Linked DNA regions of Homo sapiens: region 1 is linked to region 2. Evidence: promoter capture Hi-C in 16 types of primary human blood cells and fetal thymus (Javierre and others, 2016). All regions are on one chromosome and are shown on one strand. Each heading gives the region's core, a stretch centred on a gene start or on the middle of the fragment in contact. The rest is flanking DNA. Distances are from core to core; before and after follow the strand shown. Region 1 holds the start of CAAP1 (caspase activity and apoptosis inhibitor 1). Region 2 holds the start of PSIP1 (PC4 and SRSF1 interacting protein 1).

Region 1 (4,295 bases), core at 171-2,670, about 11 Mb before region 2:
GAAGAGGCTCCCTCATACAGAACCAGAGGGAAGAGGGCTCCCAGATGAAAGAGGGAACCTTGGGTGCAGCAGACAAGAGCCAGTTATATTATGAGGCTGGAGGAGGTGGTGACTAATTTGCATATGACCCAGGGAATTGGTTTGACCAGGTATGTCATTCACGTAGCCTGCAAAAAAAGTGGCCCTCCCACCCTAGCCTTTTAATATGCGAATGTAGGGTGCCACAATGTTCTACACATGTGGGGATATGTGGGGATGGCCATGTTGCTAGGCACATGTGGGGACAAGAAGAAGAGGGGAATCGCCATACTGAGTAAACCCAGTTTCTAACGGCCTGCATTTGCATATCATAGCTTGCCAGCCCAGCTTTTTTGCTAGACAAGAAACATTTCTGGAGCTGCTTTAAAAGAAAAAAAACTTCCCAAAGACCCCTTTACCTCTCTATCTGCCTAAAATAATTTCTTAACTTCTGTAACACCATTGGAGTACAGAATCTGGTAAATATCTCAAAATGGAAAACTTGAGATTTCTTAACCGAGTCAAAGATATCTATAAAGCAATAAGCAGCTATAAGGAAGTGGGCTATAGGAAAAGTTGGTTAACGTTTAGCTATGCTTCTACTAAAAGCTTATCTTTTGTCACAAATCCAGCAATTTGGCAGGGCACGATGGCTCACGCCTGTAATCCCAGCACTTTGGGAGGCTGAGGCGGGTGGATCACCTGAGGTCGGGAGTTCGAGACCAGCCTGACCAACATGGAGAAACCCCTTGTCTACTAAAAATACAAAATTAGCCCTGCATGGTGGCGCATGCCTGTAGTCCCAGCTACTCAGGAGGCTGAGGCAGGAGAAATGCTTGAACCCGGGAGGCGGAGGTTGCAGTGAGCCGAGATTGTGCCATTGCACTCCAGCCTGGGCAACGAGAGTGAAACTCCGTCTCAAAAAAAAAAAAAAGAAAAAAGAAAAAATCTAGCAATTTAGTTTTATTAAAATTATGATGGTTTCAGGGACACAATTCATAACAGGTTTATAAATGTAACATGTTATTAATTTTATGTGTTTTTCCTATCTGTGAACACAACACTCTCAATCCTTTCAGGTATGACTCCAATGAGTGTGATACTTAACGGAACTCCTGGGAACACAGTGGGCTCAGCCCCAGGATTTACCTTACAAGGCCAATTTAAGAGTGGGGCCTGGGGGAAGACAGTTTTCCTAGGGCTGGAAGTGTCCCTATTTATTAACCCTAGGCTGGTTTTAGGCATTTAAGTAGTTGTTGAATGACTGAGACAAATAGGAGACAAAGAGAAGGGAAGCTTCTTTAATTGCTTCTTACCCCAGGGAAAGGCACAGAATTACTACCACCCAGCTAGCTTTGCCCCAGGCTCTACCTTTTTCCCTCAGTGGCTAAAGGCCCCTGCTGAAACGACAAAGACCTTGGTTCACGTTTTAAGTGTTCTAGCTCCCTTGTCTTAAAATCTGCCTTCTATTTAGATTACATCCACCCATAAAATCTCATAAAGCTTTGACCCATTCTCAATTTTCAAAAACGAACTCAAGCTCTACTTGTCCATGTCAGACTCTACGCAAGAAATACCTAATTTGCCCAGGTGATGAGGAAAATGAGATGGAACAACTTTTCCCTATTCTCTTTATTGTCATAGCGTTGTTAATATCTTAAGATTTGGAGGTAAACGGAAATGGAGAATCAGCAACTATACTTCAACCTTATTGTAAACAGACAAAACACTAACAATAAAAAGTTTTGAAGTTAAAAGGACGTAAGTTCCACCTTCTATCCTTTGTAGAGATATAAAAACAAAACAAAACAAACTCTGACTAGACAGGCTACCCGCTACACACTCAAATCGACCTCCGCGACCGGAGGGGGAAGCGCAACTGGTTATGGCAACCCCCCTGCCACCCCGGCCCATAACGCTTCACCACGTTCTGTGCCACGGCCGGAAGTGACGCATAACCTGCGACGCCAGTGCCTGCCGCCCACGGCCGCAGGAGTCGGGCTTCGGTCGCACCAGAGACAGCGGACTTTCCTCCGATGGTTGCAGCAGAGGGATCATGACGGGGAAAAAGTCCTCCCGGGAGAAACGGCGCAAACGTAGCAGTCAGGAGGCGGCCGCAGCGCTCGCGGCCCCGGACATCGTACCCGCGTTGGCCAGCGGCAGCAGTGGAAGCACTAGCGGCTGCGGGAGCGCCGGGGGCTGCGGGAGCGTCAGCTGCTGTGGGAACGCCAATTTTAGTGGAAGTGTCACCGGCGGTGGGAGCGGCGGCAGCTGTTGGGGCGGGAGCAGCGTGGAGCGCAGCGAGCGCCGGAAGCGGAGGAGTACCGACTCTTCCAGCGTCTCGGGCTCCTTGCAGCAGGTGCGTGCGCGCCCCTCTGGCCGCTTCCTGGAGCTGCTGCTTTTTCGGAAGAAGTCGGGCTTCCAGAGGGATGGGGCGCAGGCTGGAGCTCACTGCTAGCGCGGCAATCTCAAGGTCGTCCGTCCTTGAGGTTCATGTTCCTACCTAAGTCCTGGTGAGCCCCACACTCCCATCCGTGTCTTGAATCTTGAACTTCAAGTTTCTGGATTTCCTGATCACTTTTTTTTTAATTTATTTTTTAAACTCTTGGCTCCTTCCACTCCTATGGTTTCACTCTGCCGGAAGAATACGAGTTGGAAGCTAGCCTTCATTTCCCTTGCGAGCCAAACACTTCTCCCTTCGTCTTCACCTTTTCGTAGATATGGTTAACTCCGCATTAGAGATAAGAAAATTGAGGCCCAAAGAAGTTAAACTTTACCCACGGTCACAGAGTTTGTTAATAGCTCCTAGGTTTGAATCCAAATATCTGACTACAAAAGCCATGTTCTTTATACGCCACCAGTCTGCCAAGAGAACGCCGTTTTAAAAAAGTTCATAATTTGTTTGAAAACAAATGAATGAATAGGTACTTTAAATTCATTCAATGAGGAAATAAAGGGAAAGCGTCAAGTCCCTTTTCTTGCCCCTCCATTAGTATTTTGATACGCGGCCTCTTTTAATCACTCCTCGTGAGATACGTGTTTTTAAGTTCCTACACTTAAGCTGTATTGTGTTATTCCCGCTGTTGAATACCTGCATTGTTGTGATAGGCTTCTTTATATACGTGGTTTGTTATTTTTACTGACTGCCTGGTATTGTATTATATTTTTCTGATATTTGGGTGTGCAGGTTTTTTTGTATTGTTGTGACTACAATACAAACACCTTTATGTATATATCTCCTACAAGAGTTATGTTGGGAGAGAGTGTGAGAACTGAAATTCCTGGGTCAAAGTTTATGCTATTAAAAACTTATGAATGCCACCAAATGCTTTCCAAATGAGACTTTACAGATTTATAGTCCAAACAGTATATATATAAGAATACCTATTTCTGAGATTCTTAACTAGCTTTTGATGACATTTTGATGGCATTTTTTAAAAAAATTGCCAGACTAGTGGGTCAAATTAATAGTTTGTTTTAATTTTTATTTTCCTTATTAGTGAGATTGAACATTTTAATATTTTTATTTGCCATTTGATTTCTTCTTATGTAATTTTCTGTACATATCCTCTGCTCATTATTCTCTTTGGTAGAGTAGAAACAGTTTATGTAGAGATTTTATCAGGTGGTTTTCTGGCATTCTGTTGAGATGATCACATACTTTTTCTCCTTTAGTCAGATAATGTAATTTGTTGATAAGTTAGTTGATGTTGAACAGTCTTTGGAGTCTTGGGACAAGTGCTGTTTGGTTTGTTGAGTTTGTTGTACTTGGCTGGAATTCAGTATTTTTACTTTCATGTATGTGTTTCTTTTTTTTTGTTTTTTTTGAGACGGAGTCTCGCTCTGTTGCCCAGGCCGGAGTGCAGTGGCGTGATCCCGGCTCACTGCAAGCTCCGCCTCCCGGGTTCAGGCCATTCCCCTGCCTCAGCCTCCCGAGTAGCTGGGACTGCAGGCGCCCGCCACGACGCCCAGCTAATTTTTTGTATTTTCAGTAGAGACGGGGTTTCACCGTGTTAGCCAGGATGGTCTTGATCTCCTGACCTCGTGATCCACCCGTCTCGGCCTCCCAAAGTGCTGGGATTACAGGCGTGAGCCACCGTGCCCGGCCAACTTTTATGTATATGTTTCTAAATTAGATCAGACTGTAGTTTTTATTTTTGTAATGGATTGAATTAGGAAGCTTTGTGTTTTTTTGGTGTGTTCTAGAATGGTTTATATTTTCTTCTCAAATATTTGTCAGAAGTATCTGGGTCTAGTGGAGTTTTTTAGAGTGATTT
Region 2 (4,157 bases), core at 225-2,724:
ATTCCTTTGTGTAATTACTTAGTTGTGCTCTTCCTTCCCTTTTCTTAGTCACCATTCTCACTGAGAAATGCGTCATTTCATGAGTACTCCAGTTACCCCCAGCCTCTTTCTACTAACATCTACCTTGAAACATCAAGAACTGGTTAAATAATCATTTTTACCCCCTTCTTGCTGAGCAACCTATAGTAGCTTCCTACTACACACATTAAATTCATATTCAGAATGAGAAGCTTCAAGACATTTCACCAACCCTTCCTTCTCCTCTGCCAATTTCTCTTTTTGCTCCACTTGGAACTCTCTGCATATTGCCCAGGTATACTTAGTTTCTCGAAACTCCTTACAGGACATTTTACTTTGGGACTGTCTTCTTTCATTCCTTTTTAAAGACATGCTGTATCGCTTTCAAAAAATTCTCAATTTTTACCAATTCAAAAAAAATTTCCTAATTCATTTCCAGTTGAGTCCCGTATTTAAAACAGTATTATCTAGGTGCTAATATATGTCTTATTATTCTTATTTTTATATGTCTTAACATTCTTTTTAAAAATATTTTCAGCCTCTCTAAAGGATCAAAAAATTAACCTTTAAAATCCCTTGAAGAGCATTTTAAGAGAGAAAATATTTGAGGTTTAGTAACACTTACACATTGTACCACCTACCAGCTCCTATTCTACTAGGGAAATAAAATTTAGATGCAGCTAAAATTTAGTTAGGGCCCAAACTCACATCCTATCTAAAAGGTTTCTGTTTTCCTGTCATTGTTTTCTACCCTTCGCATTTTGCATTCAGTAGGGTTGCATTTTTCTTAATAGTTCTTGGTGATGCAAATGCAAAAGAAATGAAATAGGGCTCTCTCATACTACAATTTCAAGGAAAAGGAGACTACGAGGCCCATTCAGCGAGGTGCAAGAGGCCTAGATGCAGCACACCCTGCAACCGCCGCATGCTCCAATTTCATCTTAGGGTTTTCGTACAGCTCCTCTTTTTTGGATGATGCAAACCGCGCAAAAGCAGCATTCAAACCTCCCCACCCTGGAAACGATACAAGAACATGAATCTTTACTGCCACTTTCTCCCTAACACGCAGCCAAGGGAGAGAGGCCCGGATACCCGCCCCCAAAACCGCGTCCACAACAATCATTTCCTCCCTCCCCGCCTTTTACATACAGTACACATACAAATACACACACGCAGAGAAGCCAGCAGGGGCGGGCCGGGCCCGACCACTCCGCAAACCGCAGGGGGAACTTGCGGCAGGCCGAGCTATTTTCGCCCAGTCCTTTCTTCTTCGCTTGCGTCTTCCTCTCCATCTGCATGCACCTGTTACATGAAAGCGAACTTGGGGACGTAGGGTTTCCAGAAAATCCGCTTCGGAGCCACACAGCTTCGCCGGGTGCTGCAACATCCCCCCTCTCTCGGTAAACAGTTGGTCGCGCCCCAGTGCTAGCGGGCGCCGAGCGGGAGCCGCGCGGGAGCAGCGCAGCTACGGCGGCGGCAGCGGCGGCGCGGTTGCGATTCCGAGCCGTTGAGACGCCTCTGCGGCAGCTGGTGGCGCAGGTGGCTTGCGTGGACGCGGGTAGAGGCGACCGGCCAGCAACCGCAGCGTCGGCGCCCGCGGCCCCGGCAGGTGAGCGGGCGACGGGGACTCGCCCCGCCCCCCCCTCGGTGGCGTCGCTCCTGGCTGTAGCGGGGAAGTGGACGCGGCCCGCCCGGGAGCCGAGGGGGCCGAGGCTGCAGCCGCTGGGCAGCAGGTTGCGGGGGAGGCCTTGCGTGGGCGGAAGGGGGCCGCTCGCTTCTCGGAATCCCTGCCTTTTTCTCTCCCATGCACCCCCTCCCTTTTGGGGCTTAAGCTCGGTGGAAAAAGCCCGGAGAAAGATGGGGCGGGCAGACGGGCGATTTCTGGCCGGGCAGCATCCCTGCTTCAGGTGGTGGCGTCTCTTCGGTGGCGGGGTGGAGGACCTGCTCCAGCGCGGAGGCAGCGCACTGGCGGGGGAGGAGCGGGAGGCGGCCGTCCCCTCGCTCTCCCACCCCCACCCGCCGGTTCCCCTCCCCCTCCCCTTGCGGCCCCTCCCTTCGGGGTTCTTCGCTTTAACCGCCCTCGGTGCTCTCCCTAGCAGGCGCGTCGGGACGCCCCGAGGCATCCTCCCCCGCCCGCGGGCCCGGTAGCTGGGCCCGCGTCCGCCGCCCGCATCCCCGCGCCGCCGCATCTCCTCGCCGCCTCCCGGGCTTCGGACCCCCGGTCTCGCCCCCGAAACATGACTCGCGATTTCAAACCTGGAGACCTCATCTTCGCCAAGATGAAAGGTTATCCCCATTGGCCAGCTCGAGTAAGTGATTTGTAGCCCTCGCGCTTAGCAGTGCTACCCTCCTCTCCAGAGGCCTGCTGCCCACCGTGTCTCTTTATTTTTTCTTCTGTCCTTTCTCTCCCTCGCTTTAGTCTCATTTGTAACCTGACCTTTCATTTTAGTTTTTTGCCCAATAATCTCCCGTGTAATTATGAAAATCCAGACGTTTCTACATACCTGTGTATTTCCCTATGGTTTATTGGCAGACTTGGACAGATTTTCTTCCTAGGAAATATTTAAATGCGTTGCTAGTTAATATTCCATTGTAGGTGAAATAATGAAGAGTGAATTTTTGTTTAAAAATTAGTGAAACATTGACATTTCCATAGTTTTGGATCAAGTACAAAATATCAATGGAATTTGTGCAGATTACACACAAACACTTGGATGTCAGAGAAGTGCGTATGTGATTAAATTGGATTTACAGGGTTTTAAAAAAAATACCTTGTACTTGATGAGGCCTTCTGGATTTGCTTGTTTAATACAGATTCAGGACTGGATATTCTTGAAAGTATTACAGTAGTTTAGTACCGAGGAAGGGCCAGAAAATTCATTTCTCCTTTTTTATTTGAGATGTTTATGACCTTGAAGAAGTTGTTTTACCTTTTTGTTTCCAATAGGCAAAAAGGAGGTGTGGACCAGATTCCTCAGTTCACATCTAGTGGTACAGAGAAATGATTAAGGACCCAGGATGTTTTGTGACATTGAGGAATTGAGACTGTTTAAAGATCTACGCTCCATTTTTAGAAAAAGGGTTCTTTTTGTTTATGGTGGTACCCAGGCTCTCAAACAGAGATAGATAGGACCTAAGATATGTTGCAATCAATTAGATTAGGTAAACTCAAGATCCTTTAAAAATATACTTACATGGGGTTCTGAAGTTTTATTTTTCCAAGCCATTTATTTTCGACTAATTTACTGTCCTTTGAAAATGTATTTCTTAAAAATAATTAAATTCTGTAGTTTTAGTTATGTCAGCAGGGGAATGGTGGAAAACACCCATTAGATAACGGAGTCCTGTCTAGGAGCTGAGAGTGCCATCCAAGTGTAAAACGATCACTGTTCCTTGACTTTCTTCCATCTAGCTGCTCTACGTAAACTCCTGTTCACAAGTTTCCTTCCAAAGCTTTTTTCCTTGCCTATAAAGTCTGCCTTTTCGGTGCAGTCTTACTTGAACAATCCTTAGTCATAATCCTTGTCTGTATATTTTACATTCTAATCTATTCCTTTCGTGATAATCTTTTGTTTTAATTCTTAACTCTGTGTATGCTTTGACCTCCAAATATATTGTGAGACCGAGGGCAACAACCTTAAATGGAATTTGTTTATACCCTCCATAGTCCGTAGTATATATGATGCACCTATAAAACACAATTCACGTTCAAATGGAGCCTAGGGAAACTGATCAGGTTTAAGGCCCCTCTGATATACTTTTTCATGGTCTTCGAGGTATCCTTGTTTATTTTGAGGTGTTTGAAAATATGAGGTTGTCTAATAGATCTATATTCCGATTTGCATGCCACAGTGAAGTTAAAAGCCAAAGGAAATGTTTAAAAAATCTCCCAAATCACCCTCCCCACGCTCATATGTTAAGTGACTAAGAGTGCTACTGAAAATAAAATAGGGTAGCCTTTGGAAGACCAGAGTGTTTTCCTTATTTAACAAGTTCTACATTTAACAAGTTCATTTGGATTGGAAGGGAAGTGTTTGTCTTTTCCCTTTTCCCCATCATTTTTTCTGAGAAACACCTCCATTTAGTGTTGGTGTATTCTGTGTCCAACAGTTACATTCCTTTTTCTGTCTTCTTCATTC

What was found. Contacts are between HindIII fragments. The CHiCAGO score rates a contact against its expected background, and 5 or more counts as called.
Region 1: a fragment that was not itself captured here is called in contact with the fragment with the promoter of PSIP1 in region 2 in 2 of 17 cell types (total B cells and non-activated CD4 T cells); the score reaches 10.8 in total B cells.

The regions. Positions count from the first base shown.
Region 1 is chr9:26,890,495-26,894,789 of GRCh38, reverse strand. CAAP1 (caspase activity and apoptosis inhibitor 1) reads left to right here and starts at 1,988. Exons shown (of 6, transcript NM_024828.4): 1 at 1,988-2,377. The coding sequence starts at 2,075. RefSeq lists enhancers at 1,759-1,828, 1,430-2,009, 1,959-2,178, 2,259-2,438, 2,010-2,589. The HindIII fragment of the contact is 207 bases long and covers 1,317-1,523 here.
Region 2 is chr9:15,508,287-15,512,443 of GRCh38, reverse strand. It overlaps PSIP1 (PC4 and SRSF1 interacting protein 1), which reads left to right and starts at 1,474. Exons shown (of 16, transcript NM_033222.5): 1 at 1,474-1,627; 2 at 2,115-2,327. The coding sequence starts at 2,256. RefSeq lists enhancers at 455-1,407, 1,408-2,361 and silencers at 1,489-1,568, 1,589-1,798, 1,809-1,868, 1,999-2,048, 2,149-2,348. The HindIII fragment of the contact is 3,241 bases long and covers 233-3,473 here.